2 separate regions of the Homo sapiens genome follow, and region 2 is linked to region 1. Evidence: promoter capture Hi-C in human tissues and cell types (Jung and others, 2019). All regions are on one chromosome and are shown on one strand. Each heading gives the region's core, a stretch centred on a gene start or on the middle of the fragment in contact. The rest is flanking DNA. Distances are from core to core; before and after follow the strand shown.

What was found. The method cuts DNA at HindIII sites, captures the fragments that hold promoters and counts their contacts. A contact is called where the count stands out against the background at its distance.
Region 2: a fragment that was not itself captured here is called in contact with the fragment with the promoter of CSRP2 in region 1 in 1 of the 25 tissues and cell types used here (heart left ventricle).

The regions. Positions count from the first base shown.
Region 1 is chr12:76,875,853-76,883,335 of GRCh38, reverse strand. CSRP2 (cysteine and glycine rich protein 2) reads left to right here and starts at 4,317. Exons shown (of 6, transcript NM_001321.3): 1 at 4,317-4,398. It overlaps LOC124902971 (a long non-coding RNA gene), which reads right to left and starts at 4,977. Exons shown (of 2, transcript XR_007063380.1): 1 at 4,686-4,977; 2 at 1,871-3,448. RefSeq lists silencers at 4,048-4,097, 4,128-4,557. The HindIII fragment of the contact is 6,431 bases long and covers 1,395-7,483 here.
Region 2 is chr12:76,636,547-76,644,173 of GRCh38, reverse strand. It overlaps LOC105369851 (a long non-coding RNA gene), which reads left to right. Exons shown (of 2, transcript XR_945115.3): 2 at 7,525-7,627. Among named protein-coding and RNA genes, the nearest start is that of OSBPL8, 81 kb to the right of the region's middle. RefSeq lists an enhancer at 6,808-7,627. The HindIII fragment of the contact is 4,564 bases long and covers 69-4,632 here.

The DNA.
Region 1 (7,483 bases), core at 3,068-5,567:
GCCTCAAATGCCTTGACTGGATCCAGTGCTCCACCCTGAAACAGGACCATGAACTCACATGCCTGAAACCACACAGAGAGGAATGGATGCTACAGAGGCAATCACAAATACCTACTACACGACTCAGGGATATTTATGTCAGCTTTTAAAAATACGGGGTGAGCAGAATTTTTGTCATTTGAAAGGAAAGAAAGCAATAGAGCCTGAAATTGAACAGCAAGGGAGTACAATCACGTGCCACATGAAGATTTTCAATCAACAACAGATCACAAATATGAGGGTGGTCCTGTAACACTACAATACTGTGTTTTTGCTGTACCTTTTCTATATTTAGATATGTTTAGATACACAAATACTATTGTGTTGCCATTGCCTGTGGTGTTCTGTACAGTCACATGCTGTACAGGTTTGTAGCCCATGAGCAATAGGCTATACCTTAGGCCATATGGTGTAGGTTTGTGTAAGTATACTCTACAATGTTGGCATAATGGTAAAATTGTCTCATGATGCATTCCTTAGAACCTGTTCCCATCACTAAGTGGCACATGACTGTATAACTAAAAAATGCCAAAGAAATGGATCAAAAGCCTAGGCAGAGTGGACACTGTTGGTAGGGAGTGGGAGAACCATTTGCTCCTCCAAGATCAGGGACAGCAAGTACAAACATAGGAGAAAACATGGAAGCTTCGAGGCAAAGTGGAGGAAGGTTGAGGAAATGTTGGTGACTGGCTGTGAATGTGAATGAAGGAGAAGAAGGTGATGTCACCAGCTGAAAAAGAGGGAGAAAAGTGAGATAAAGGAATTAAGGGGTTAAGATAAGATGGATAGAATATGCTGTCTGGGAAGTTAATGGTGTCTTTCTTACTAGTAGAACTAGAAAAACTCTGCTATAATATGAAAGCAGAAGCAGAGCTCAAAAAGATAGAAAGCTCTGGTTGAAAAGAAGAAATAAATAACATCATAATAGAAGATAATAGCACTGAATGAAAATAATGCCTACTGGAGAAAGAGAGTTAGGAAATGAAGCAAGTATAAGAAAGTAGGAGTTTATAGCAGGTTAAAAAAAGCAACTATGACAAATATCAAGAATAAGATACTCTAATCTACCTTCCAACATTTAAGCATATATCACTTACATTATTCTTTTCTCTGTCAGATAATAAATCACAGAGTATTAGGGTTAAGTATGAGTAATTTTTAATTCCCACAACTGCTGCTAAATCTTAGCTAAGAAATAAGGTAGAAAAACTGCTTCTTTTTGTGTTATTAAATGTGTAGGTTAGCAAAGTGCAAATTGTTTCCCTTTTTTTCATACTAAAATCATTATAATAAGACATTCCTCTTCACTATAGCTTTCTTGCCTTCTGGGAAGAAAGCCTTGCCCTAAAATAAAGAGGCTTTGTGTTTAAATTCACATTCATCTGATTCAGAGTTTTGTTAAGAAAAAGGGGCATGAAATAAAAATAATAAAAATATTTTTAAAATCTACGTTTGAAGCACAAGGTCATGACAAAAGGCAACAACCTTGGTTCAACTTGCCTTAGGACAGTGACCTTGAGAGAGGGCTTTGATTTGAAATTGGTTGATGAATTCCAGAGAATAGAGTTGTTACAAGTATAATACACATTTTGAGTGGGAAAAAGAAATAGCCTGCTGGACACATTTAACCTTTGATTCTGCCTATTACAAGGTTGAAGGGGTCAAACAGACTAGGACCATGTGGACTTAAGGGTTTATCCTTCTCCTTGAGGACACATTTTTCCCACTATCCTTCTGCAGGCGCGCAGATGCTTCCTACTGAAGACTCTTAATTGTTTTGGAAAACACTCCATACCTTCTTAATAGCAAGCCCTCAAGAAGGCAACATGAGTACTTAGCAAAGCACAATTTTATTTCTTTCTTGAGAGGCAAAAAGGACATCAAGATATCTTTGCTTAACATAACAACCATCAATTATTCAGTATTTACCATGTGCCAGGTGCTATGTTTGGCATTTTACATACATCACCCAATTTAATCCTCATAACAACACTACAAGATGTGTAGAATTATCTTTTTACAGATAAAGAAACAGATGCATAGAGGTCAAGTACTTAGCCCAAGCTTACAAAACTGATAGGTGGCAGAGCTGTATGTTGAAATCATGTGTGTTTGATTCCAAAGCCCATACTCTTTCTTTTGCACCACTCTGTCTAAAAACTCTTAAATAATTTCTTCATGTTCATAACTAAAAGAGTCAACAGTTTAAATAGATGTTTAAAGAAAATAAATATTTTTTAAATGTTGATAAATACAAATACAGATTTGTTCAAAATCACACGTTGTATATCATCTGCAGACTCAGTGTGAAGTACACGGAGACAAACACATACAGGGACAGACAGCAGAAACACTTTTAGGTCAGAAACAAGCCCAATTTCTTTTTTGTTTTGTTTTGTTTTTTTGAGACGGAGTCTCCCTCTGTCACTCAGGCTGGAGTGCATTGACGTGATCTCCACTCACTGCAACCTCCACCTCTCAGGTTCAAGTGATTCTCCTGCCTCAGCCTCCAAGTAGCTGGGATTACAGACATGTGCCACCACGCCCGGCCAACAAGCCCAATTTCAAATGATAAGACATGGCTATGGAATTTAGGGACAACATGAGCTTGACGGAAAGCAAACAGCTCAGGTTTGGGAGGCCCCTTCCACAAAGAGGCATTGAGAAGAACTCAGGGTAGGAGAGAAAGGGCAGTGGTTTGCTGCAGTGAGACTCACTGATACAGTTTCATTCAGTAGAAGCACTAGGCAAACTTATACAAGAAAAAATAAACATTGTAAGCAGCTGAGCTAAAGCGAATGTAGAATCTGAGGGACTGAATTTTCCTGTTGGCCCGTGAGTCAAGTCACTTACACTAGCTGATATCACTGAAATAAGGATTGCCCATATTTAGAAAAGCTCACAGCAGGCAAGAATGCTTTCCAGACTCCTGCCACAGTATCAGGAGATGTCAATCACCACTATGTGTTTTTGGACAGTACTTGGTGGACAGAGAACAAGGCAGCTATAATGAGTTTATCCTGGATTGGCCCCAGCATATAAAATAAAACAATAATAATATTATAAGTCGGTTCTGTACGTTGTCATGCGGATATGTGCTCCCTGCCCTCTCCCCAAGAGGGCATTTGGCAATGTCCAGAGACTTTTTGATTGTCACAACGTCGGGGGCAGGTTGCAACTGGCATCTAGTGGGTGGAGGCCTCCTACAATGCACAGGACAGCCCCCTACAATAAAGAATTATCCAGCCCAAGATGTCAATGGTGTGGAGGATGAGAAACTCTGGACCAGAGGAGGCAATAGCATTTATGGCATGAGGGGGTTTTGGTCACTGACTTTTTTGAACTCCCCACTCCGCAAGTATCAGTTCTCCGGGATCATTGCTTCTGGCAGGAGAGGTCATGAGGAGGCCTAGAATATGAACCAGATAGAGATTGCATTGTTTATTTTCCTTTTCATCTAAAACAATAAATCATCCTGTAGCTTAGGCATTAGGTCCCTTCGGATGTCACGGTATCCTTGTGCTTTTCTGACATCAACACATATAAATACAGGGCCTGTGGCGCCCGGGGTTTCTGCCTGGGTTTAGGTTTCTTCCCCCTCAGCATCGCGTGCTGTGCCCTGGTGGAGGGGAAGAGCGAAACACTTTGGGAATGGGGCGTTTTCGTAACGTCATTTATTTAGTCTAGATGAATTTTGCTCTTTAAGAATAAGAAGTTGTGGATTCCCAGAAGCTGGAAATCGGACGAGAGAATATGCGTTAACTAGGGAAGTTAATCACGTTGAGTTTACTGACAAGGACAAGGCAAGGGGGAGGTGGCGGAAAGCCCCGTTTGGCTGACTTTCTACTGCTGGAGCCTCCCGGCCCATGACTGTCTCCGCGAAGAGGGGGATCGGCGCTCGCGGTGGACAGGTCCGACGCAGGGCGGCGGGGGCCACTTTCCAGCGGGACCGTCCCGCCGCCGGGCCTCCCTGGAGGGGAAGGAAGTCCCTCTCCAAGTCCCAGTGGCTTTTGGAACTGCCGGGTCCCTTTGGGAGGGAGCGGTCCCGGGACGTGGGAAGATGCCGGGCGGGCGGGAAGCTGCAGGAAGAGGCGGGCCTCCTGCCTTTTGTCTCCTGGTGGCTAGCCCGGAGCGGGCAGAGGGCAGCCCGCCCGCTACACGCCCCAGCCCGGCAAGCGGCTCCGGGAATCCGGCGGGCGGGGCTGGGAGGAGGGCGGGGCGGACACAGGCCGCGCCCACCGAGCGCTCTTTAAAAGGCACCGGCGCGCGCTTCGCCTGGGATCTCGGACTCCCTGGACCCTCCCTCCAGCCCAGCCTCGCTAGCTCCGCCTGCGGTACGTGCTCCCGCCTCCGACTCAAGTGAGTAGGGGCGGTGGGGCGGTTCCGCGGCGCCGCCAACCCCGGGGCGGGAGTTGCAGGGGGTTTCCACCGCCTCCCGGGGTCGTGCTGTCGCCCGGCCGGCGCGCCCCGGTCTCCTCCGACATCCCCATCCCGGTCCGCATTTGTGCCCCTGCCAGCCTTCTCATCCCTGCGCCCCAGATTTTCTCTCTCTTATCCCCCAAACACACCTGCCCTTGTCCCCGAGGCCGTCCAGGCCATGCCCTGGGATCCCAGGCCCGCGGGGCAGGTAAATAATCTTATATGACCTTTAATTTCTCCATACTGGTTTCTCTGGGAGAGAGGCGGGTTGTGAGTTTCGCGTTTCTGCTAATCCGCCTCTTAGCAGCCGTCGGTCCCCTCGTCCAGCGGCAGGCTCTCTCTGGGGTGGGGGTCGGAGTCTCAGGGCCCCCTCTGCCCGGAGTGTGGTGAGCACCGAGGGCGACCTTACTGGGTTCTGTCCCCTAGGGGTGGAATGGGGCTTCTACATCCCCCCGAGCCCAGGGTACTGCTCCTGCCGCCGTACCGGGCTCCTGGCATCCCCATTGTTTGGTGGTGTCTGCCCACCCAGCACCGAACCCCTCTATGTTGAAGGAACAGCAGGGAATGTCAATCACTTACTCCTAGCTTTTTCCAGAACTTTCTACGATTCAGGTACAAAGAAGAATGCAAGAATGCTTGGTTGTGAAATTATGCGACAGGTCCTGCGAATCACATTCTGGGTTCTCCAGAGCCAGATTCAGGAGCTCCACGTAGGCACCCCCTGGGGGCGGGGGCGGGCTTTCTAAACCGGCGGATCCCTTTCCCCCTTCTAAGCCAGGACATTTGTTAAACGATTTTTACTTAAATGGCTACCCAAAATGTTTAACCTGTTTTATTTGCAGTCTGCAAACCAAGCACATTTTCCCTTTATAAATGCTTTTCGGTACAGAATTTTTTTTGGGGGGTGGGGGGGTGGGGCGGGGGCAGTTAGTAATTTTTTAACCCGGGCAGCGAAAATCGTCGTATTTAGTTCTTGACTTTTCCAATTAACCTGTTTTAAAACTCTCCTCATAAAATGCCAAGAATTCAAATAGGACAGCCACAAAGTTGGCTGTACTTTGACTCACGTTTTTCAAGAAAGAATTGGGTGATAGATTTTGAAAGGGAGAATCTAACATAGTTTCAGAACTGCATGCCAAGCTACAAAGAATGTTGTGAAGTACTAAGTGGTCTCCCCCAGTACTCCTGGGGTCATCGCTCTCGTCCATTGTCACTGATACTTTGTCAGTATTTCTCTGGGTCCTTTCTCCTCTGCATTGTAGTTTTCTTTGCTCTTTTGGTTCTGTGTTACCTTTGAGACCAGACCTGCATCACATGAGTCTTTGAAACTCACAGTGCTTGCTTGGGTACCTTGGACAATTGACTGAAAGAAGGAGCGAATAAGGTTGTGATTATAGGGAACAAAAATATAATTTGACTCACACAATAGGTATTTGTTTGCAGATTTGATCTAAAGTTCGTATCATAAATTTTTAATGCATTTCTCCGAATGTATTTAACAAATATTGATTGATACTGGTATAGGCTAAGTACTGTGCTGAAAGCAGTACTTGCTGGAGGCCTGTCCTGATGAAATTGCAAAATCACTTGGATTTGGGGGAGATTGAATTTTATCCTAAAACAGCAAGAATGTTGGTGTAGAGTAGAGGACAGCAATAAATGAGGAGTTTTAGAAGCCTGAGTCCAGAGGCAACTCTGACACTAAATTGCTATAGTGATCTGGGTCTCTAGGTTTTCTTCTTTGTCAAAAGTGAGGTGAATCAAATGAACCCCAAAAGGGAGCCCCCTATGGGAGAGGAGGCATGGCTGAAAGGGGGAGGAACGAAGCCAGGCAGGACCAAATTCACACCTCAACTCCAGTACCCATTGGTTTGATGCCCTTGGGCAAATTAACTTTACTCTTTGGCCTCAATACTTCATCATGTAAAATGGGTGTAGTGGCACATGCCTTGCAGGGTTGTCATAAGGCCTGTTGATACTTGTACAAAGCCCAGCCCAGCCTGGGAGTAGTTCCTTGTAATTAGACAAAGTTGTGCACTTGGTTGAATATATGTGGGAAAAGGCTATCAGTGAAAGTCTGTTTCAGGAGAGAGCTGGCTCACACCTGAAGAGCGTTTCCTAGACCTTGCCTGGAGGCCAGCTTTCTTCTCTGTGCAGATGTTCACAGGTTTCCTCAAGGCACCTTACCCTGACTGCCAGCATGCCATCCCTTGGGTTCTGTTGGGTGGGGATCCCCAGACACCTCTGGATCTTTGATTACCTAGGTGGGGTTTCTGACTTTTTATATCATGGCACTCCTGTGAGGCCTCCAGACCCCTTCTCAAAATGACGTAACATAAAGTATGTGGTACCAAGTTCCCCAACCCCCAGAATTAAAAGGAATTGTGGCCTTTGGGTTAAGAATCCTGAATTAAGGGAATATTTCTCAGTCTGGATAGTGGAGAAGCTGGGCACAATTTCTTTTTTTTATATTTTTTCCTTTTCAAATTCCTTTTTACCACAGGCACAATTTCTGATTGTTAAAAATTTTATTGTTGTAAGTCACAGAGGAAGAACTAATAGAAGTACATGGTGAATGATCTGGAAAGGATATCAGGTTCCTTGTTTTTTTGTTTACAATCTTATTGTGCCAACAATACTATTGTCTTCGACTAATAAGAACAGACACCATGTAATACATTAGGGCCAAATTACTTCCCAGTTCACTATAGGAAAGAGGGCTTCATGGTGGTTTCACAGTACTTCCAAAAGAAAATAAGCAGAGAGAATTGAATCCTCATCCAGCACACGGCAGTGCAGGAACTACTCAGCTTAAGAAGAACCTATGCCATAGCCATGGAGGTCGGTACTACATCTGTATTGCTACCAGGGGTTTAGTTTAGCAAAACATCAGTGAAATAATTTTGAATTGGAATTTTATTGGTATTCATTTTTAAGTTGAATTGATAATTTTATTTTGGTTTCACAGTTATGAGTCATTTAATAGCTCTATGCCTCAGTTTCCCCACTCATAAAATGAGAATAG
Region 2 (7,627 bases), core at 1,101-3,600, 240 kb after region 1:
TTGCCCAGGCTGGAGTGCAGAGGCACCATCTCAGATCACTGCAACCTCTGACTCCCAGGTTCAAGCAATTCTCCTGCCTCAGCCTCCCAATTAGCTGGGATTACAGGTGCCCACCACCACACCCAGCTTATTTTTTTTGTATTTTTAGTAGAGATGGGGTTTCACCATGTTGGCCAGGCTGGTCTCTAACTCCTGGCCTCAAGTGATTTGCCTGCCTCAGCCTCCAAAAGTGCTGGGATTACAGGCATGAGCCACCGTGCCCAGCTATTAATTATATTTTAGACAGGCTCTCACTCTGTCACCCAGGCTGGAGTGCAGTGGCATAATCATAGCTTACTGCAGCCTTGAACTCCTGGGCTCAAATGATCCTTCTGCTTCAGCCTCCTGAGTAGCTGGGATTACAAGTGTGAAACATTGTGCCAAGAACCTCATGTATTTTTCATCCAGTAATACAGCTTCTAAAAATCCATTCTAAGAAACCAGTTGTAGATAGAATCAAATATTTACATACCAAGTGCATTTATCACAGCTCTATAAGAAGAGCAGAATCCCTAGCAACTTATGTCTCTGAGGTGTCTCACTGCTCTGCTATAAATTTCAATGTTGACAACCACCTTGAATGGTAATTTGGAGAGCATTTTAGGCAGGGAGTCAAAAACACTGGCTCAAGTACTTGTTCTAACCCTTTATCTCCTGTCTGACTCTAGAAAATTACTTTTTTTGAGTCTGTTATTTAACATTTTATTTGCAACATAAAATACGATTTAAGATCATGGACTTTAGAGGTAGACTGCCAAGCCTCAGCTTCACTATGTACTAGCTAATGGAACTTGGGTAAATTACTATACCTCTGTGCCTCAATTTTCCCAACTATAAGATGGCGATAGTAATACTTCCTACCGTAAAAAGTTGTTTTGAGGATTAAACAAATTATCATCTGTAAGGCTGGCTTATTAGTGGTTGGCATTCAGCAATCACTATCTTGCTTTAAGTGCTAAATGAGCCTGCATAATGGGAATAATAAACCCTTTTTCACCAAACTGATGGAAGGATGACATGGGAGCATATATGTGAGAGTACTACAGAAACTACAACATACAGGCTGGGCGCGGTGGCTCACGCCTGTAGTCCCAGCATTTTGGGAGGCCGAGGCGGGTGGATCACGAGGTCAGGAGATCAAGACCATCCTGGCTAACATGGTGAAACCCTGTCTCTACCAAAAATACAAAAAATTAGCCGGGCATGGTGGCAGGCGCCTGTAGTCCCAGCTACTCGGGAGGCTGAGCAGAAGAATGGCGTGAACCCGGGAGGCGGAGCTGGCAGTGAGCGGAGATTGTGCCACTGCACTCCAGCCTGGGCGACAGAGCAGAGCGAGACTCCGTCTCAAAAAAAAAAAAAAAAAAGAAAAAAGAAAAAAAGAAACTACAACACACTATGCAAATGTCATGCCGTTATTAGAGAGGTAGTTGGAAGTATATGTCAATCATCTTACAATTCTATGGTAAAAATATTCTACCTCCTAGAAACATATGTATGAGTAGTAATTGATTTAGCAGACCAGAGAATTGAAATTTAAGTCTGCATTGGGGGAGAAAAGGTCAGAGTAAAGGAGGGCTGCATGGAAAGGACTAATAAGAAGCAAACTGTAGAATCACAGAAGAGCTCAGGTAGGGATACAATTGGGCCTAAAACAGAAGGATTGGTTAAAAATCTTGAAAAGGAGTAGGGAGATGACCCACTTCCCCATCTCTTCATCCCTCTCTACGTGGCTACCCGTTCCCTCCCCTGACAGAAAAGTGGAAATTTGTTCTCTCAAATGGTTGTATCAGAAAGGCTGTGATCTCAGGAACACTATTTTTAAAGGAATATTTAGAGAATAGTCTAAAGGTCTTCAACATTAAAAAATAAGATGGTAGAAATGAAAAATCAAAAGGAAGCTTGAATATACGGTCAAGTGTATTTCCCAGAAAGAACAAAAAGATAAACAGATGCCAGATGCAGTGACTCATGCCTGTCATCCCAGCACTTTGGGAGGCCAAGGGGGCAGATCACTTGCGGCCAGGAGTTCAAGACCAGCCTGGGCAACATAGCAAAATAAGCCAGGCATGGTGGTGCACACCTAGAGTCCCAGCTACTCAGGAGGCTGAGGCAGGAGGATTCCTTGAGCCCAGAGGTTTGAGGCTGCAGTGAACTATGATTGCACCATTACACTTCAGCCTGGGCAACAGAGTGAGACCCTGTCTTAAAAACAAACAAACAAAAAAAACCCAAAACACACAACACACACACACACACACGAACAAGACAAGAAAACAAAACACGCACACACACAAACAAGACAAACAGATGCAATATGTAAGGAAGAGCATTAGAGACGTACAAACCAATTTCCCAGAATTTAAGGACCTGAGTTTTCTGATGAAAACATTTCAGTTACAGTCCGGTCAAAAAACTAAACCAAAGAACAACATCATGAAATTTCAAAAGACAAAAGATTTTAAAAGACATATCTATGAAAACTCCTTGAAAGGAAAAATTAGTCTGGGCACAGTGGCTCACGCCTGTAATCCCAACACTTTGGGAGGCTGAGGCAGGCAGATTGCTTGAGCCCAGGGGTTTGAGACCAGCCTGGGCAACACAGGGAGACCCCATCTCTACAAATAATACAAAATTAACTAGGAATGGTGGCACATGCCTGTAGTCTCAGCTACTCGGGAGGCTGAGGTGGAAGGATTGCTTGAGCCCAGGAGGTCAAGGCTGCAGTGAGCTGAGATCTTGACACTGCACTCTAGCCTGGGGGACAGAGTGAGACCCTGTCAAAAAAAAAAAAAGAAGGAAAGTGAGAAAGAAGAAAAGAAAGAAAGACAGAGAGAAAGAAAGAAAAGGAAAGAAAGAAAGAAAGAAAAGAAAGAAAGAAAGGGAAAGAAAGAAGAGAGAGAGGGAGGGAAAAGAAAAGGAAAGAAGGAAAGAAAGAGAAAAGCAAAGCAAGGTCACAAAGTATCAGGAATCAAAATGGGATCAAAATTCCTAGTAGCAACCACTGGAAACTAGATGATAATTGATTAAAACTTCCAAATTCTAAAAGAAGATGATTTCTAAGTAAAATTCTCTGTCTGCTTAAACTCTACATAAAGTAAAAAGCTAAAGATTTTTTCAGACAAGCAAGGACTCAAATAATTTACCTTCCATATCTGCTTCTCAGAAAGCTCCTGGGAGTTATTGGGCTCCACTAAAATAAGAGAGTAAACTGAGAAAGAGGAAAATGGATATCCAGCACCAGAGGAGGCCAGGGGACATCCCATGATGGTGGCAAAGGTCAGAATCTGGGTAGCAGGTCGGACAGCAACCAGGCCAGGCTGGAGCAGGAGGCAGGAGCAACAACGCCAAGAAAAAATGGGACTGATAGATGGTCAGATGTATTTGGCCATGTCAGAGGGGTTTTATAGACAAAAGTTGATGCAGGAAGTTTAAGGTAGTATATATGTGGATCAGATATGTACTTATGGTCATAATCATGTAATTATTTAATACTAATTTAATTCAATACTGATTGTATAACTATATTTGAGGCATGCAGATTGGAAAAGCACGCATGTATGTAAGTGGAGAGTGTGGGGAGAGAAACAGACTTAAATCCTCATCTTTCTTTTTTTTTGAGATGAAGTTTTGTTCTTGTTGCCCAGGCTGGAGCTCAGTGGCACGATCTCGGCTCACTGCAACCTCTGCCTCCCGGGTTCAAGCAATTGTCCTGCCTCAGCCTCCTTAGTAGCTGGGATTACAGGCACATGCCACCATGCCCGGCTAATTTTTGTATATTTAGTAGAGATGGGGTTTCACCATGTTGACCAGGCTGGTCTTGAACTTCTGACCTCAGGTGATCCACCCACCTCGGCCTCCCAGAGTGCTGGGATTACAGGTATGAGCCACCATGCCCCACTTAAATCCTCATCTTTCATCATAGGAGATTGTTCAGAATCAATTGAGAGATGGTAATAAGAGTCAGATGGATAAAGATCAAAATATCAGCTTCAAGGTTTGGGTGTGGGAAGGTTTTGGGGGAAGTGATTCTAGGAAGTGGAGTGAGGGTATGGGAAAGAGAGACTGGAAAAGGAGAAAAGCCATTAAGAATGTGTCAGTGAGCTCAGTCCCACTGGAGACCTTCTGAGAAACAGGGTGGAACACGCCTTTGCATTGTCCCACCAGAGGACAGGGAGGCTGGTCGACTTGTTGAAGATGGCGTACGCAAACGCCTCTGCATTTCTCATTCTGCTTATACAACTAAGAGCTCCTGTCGGGCCAAAGAAAGCCCTGCTGTGGTGAAGTAAAGAGATGCTAGAGCTTAAGGTGGGAGGCTGTCAGCAGGGTGGAAGCTGTCACACCACAGCAGGTGAGCTTACAGTTAGAGGTAGGTGGGGGCCTGGGAGGGGAGCATTAATAGCTTCTGTCAAACAAATGCTGGGTTGGAGCACAGAGTGTGATCTTCCTAATATTTCAACTATGAGTTAAGCAGACTTAGCCCCTTCATCACTAACCTATTGCACAGAACAGACACTGCCTCAATATGCTCACCAAATGGGAGAGCCAAATTGAAGGCACCTTGCCTCAGGCAGGTTCATCCAAGAGAAAGAAGAGGCTGAGGCAGGCCTGCTCACTAGCCAAGTAAGTCCCTTCTTCCTGGAGGAGGGAGTGAGAAATGGAGAGAGAGGCCCAAAGAGTTATTTTTGCTAACATTGCCCCAAGTGGAAACATAAGACCAGGGAAATGAAGGGCTCCCATAGAAACCAGCATGTCAAAGCAGATACTGAAATTTTAAAAACAACAATACAAAACAGAAAACAGCAGTATTCACGTGTTATTTCAGATTACCAAGGTATATACCACCAAAATAGCTAAGATATTTCCAAAGTGGTTGCTATGGTCTGAATATTTGTGTCCCTCCAAAATTCATATGTTGAAATCTAATCTCCAATGTGTTGATATTAAGAGGTGGGATCTTTGGGAGGTGGTTAGGTCACGAAGGCAGAGCCCTAGTGAATGTAATTAGTGCCCTTATAAAAGTGGTGTGAGGGAGCTTGTTTCCCTCTTTGCCCTTCCACTAAGTGAGGGCGGAGCTAGAAGGTGCCATCTATGAGGAAATGGACCCTCACCAGATGCTGAGTCTGCCAGCACCCTGAGCTTGGACTCTCCAGCCTCCAGAACTGTGCAATACATTTCTGTTGTTTATAAATTATCCAGTCGAAGGTACTTTGTTAGAGCAGTTTGAATAGACTAAAACAGCAGTTATCTGTGGAAGAATGGGAATTAGAATGGGAGGAAGAGTAAAGAGGACTGCTATTTTTCACTATAAACCTAATCATAGTATTTGACTATTTTAATCTGCATAAATGTATTATTTTCATTAAAATGAATTTATTTATTTATTGAGACAAGGTCTCGCTCTGTTGCCCAGGCTGGAGTGTGGTGGTGCGATCATGGCCCACTGCATCCTCAACCTCTTGGGCTCATTGGATTCCCCCACCTCAGTTTCCAGAGTAGCTGAGACTACAGGCATACATCACCATGCCCTGCTAATTTCTATATATTTTTTGTAGAGATGGAGTTTTGCCATGTTGCCCAGACAGTTCTTGAACTCCTGGGCTCGAGGAATATGCCCACCTCAGCCTTCCAAAGTGTTGAGACTACAGGTGTGAGCCACTGCACCTGGCCTATTTTCATAAAAATTTGAATATTAAATTAGAAACAATTCTATAACAGACCCACCACATTAAGTGGGAAAAAATGTTTTAAAAATCAGCATGGCAAACTAATCCTAATTAACAAAAATTCTACATGAACAGTTGTTACATTTATAATCAAGAAAATAAAATACACACTAAAAATACATTTAAAAAATAGAGCAGAGATGAGTTGTATTCAGTTATTTCTACATATTAAGCAACTATTAGCTATTTGAAATTATGTCAGTAGTTAATTATAGGAAGCAACAGTGAAAATAAATTTGAGAACACGTGTACTTATACCATGCTGATCCAAACATCTCTGCTTGATTGAAATGTCTAGGGCACATTGGGATATAAATAATGCTAGCAAGCCACTACTTTGTGTGGTTAAAACAAGAGGATCAGAATATGATTTCATGAATCACATGGGTTATTGACATACAAACAGATTTTTTTTACAATGCTTAAAGAGGGGGAGAATAATGACAACAAATCTCACAGGAATGCACTCCATAAATGAAGTACATTAGTCACATAGTGAACGAGTTCTGATTTTCTTTAGAATCCAATTATTAGAATTTAGTTACTTAGGGGCTGGGTGCAGTGGCTTATGCCTGTAACCCCAGTATTTTGGGAGGCCAAGGCGGGTGGATCACCTGAGGTCAGGAGTTCGAGACCAGCATGACCAATATGGTGAAACCCCACCTCTACTAAAAATACGAAAAAATCAGCTGGGCTTGGTGGCTTGTGCCTGTAGTCCCAGCTGCTCGGGAGGCTGAAACAGGAAAATTGCTTGAACCCAGGAGGTGGAGGTGGCAGTGAGCCAAGATCATGCCACTGCACTCCAGCCTGGGCAACAGAGCAGGACTGCGTCTCAAAAAAAAAAAAAAAAAAAAAAAAAGGAATATAATTACTTAGGATGGAAGCAGGCCTCTGCGGATGTAAAGGATGTAAAGTCTAATAGAAGTTTGAGGTATACCTTTACAGGGGAGGCTTTCAGAAGAGATGATTTGACCAACATGGCGGAAATCCGTGGTGACACACAAGGCCCCTCACTGCTAGTGAGTGATGCTGGTGTTGGTGGGGAGGTTGGCAGAGAGTAGCTCTGGCACCCATCACCTAAGCTCTCAATCTTTCTGTCAAAATCTTGGGTTCGGCTGGGCGTGGTGGCTCATGCCTGCAATCCCAGCACTTTGGGAGGCCAAGGTGGGCAAGTCGCTTGAGCCCAGGAGTTTGACACCAGCCTGGCAAACATGGTGAAACCTCGTCTCTACAAAAAAATACAAAATTTAGCCAGGCGTGGCAGCATGTGCCTATAGTCCAAGCTACCTGGGAGGCTGAAGGGGGAGGATTACGTAAGCCCAAGAGGTAGAGGCTGCAGTGAGCCATGATCGTGCCACTCTGCTCCAGCCTGGGCAACAGAATGAGACCCTATGTCAAAAAAAATTGTTCTTAATTAAAATTCTTGGGTTTATATGTATTTTGGAGTCCAGTAGTTGAGGCCAATAACTCATATATCTAGTCTGATAAGGTATTGAAACCGTCCCTGTAAACTTTATAAATTAATCATGGAAGAAGTGAGAGGAAGAAACAAAAATATACCAAGCTTGCAGCACATGCAGCATTAATCGCTAGGTCAGCCTGCTCTCTGACCCACTCCCTCATAGTTGTTTTGTGCCTCTTGCCTTAGAATCACATAGACCCTGTTACAAGATTATAGTTCCCCTTAACTGCTCTATAGAGAACAATTTAAACATTATAAAATGTTAAGTTTTCCATTTGAGGTTTTCATTTGCTCTTTCAGGTTTTGTATACCAGTGAAACTACTGACATCACCTGGTCTGAAGGACCCCATGAAGAGATGACTCACCAAAGAATGCAGTTTCCACATCCTGATGATTTCATCC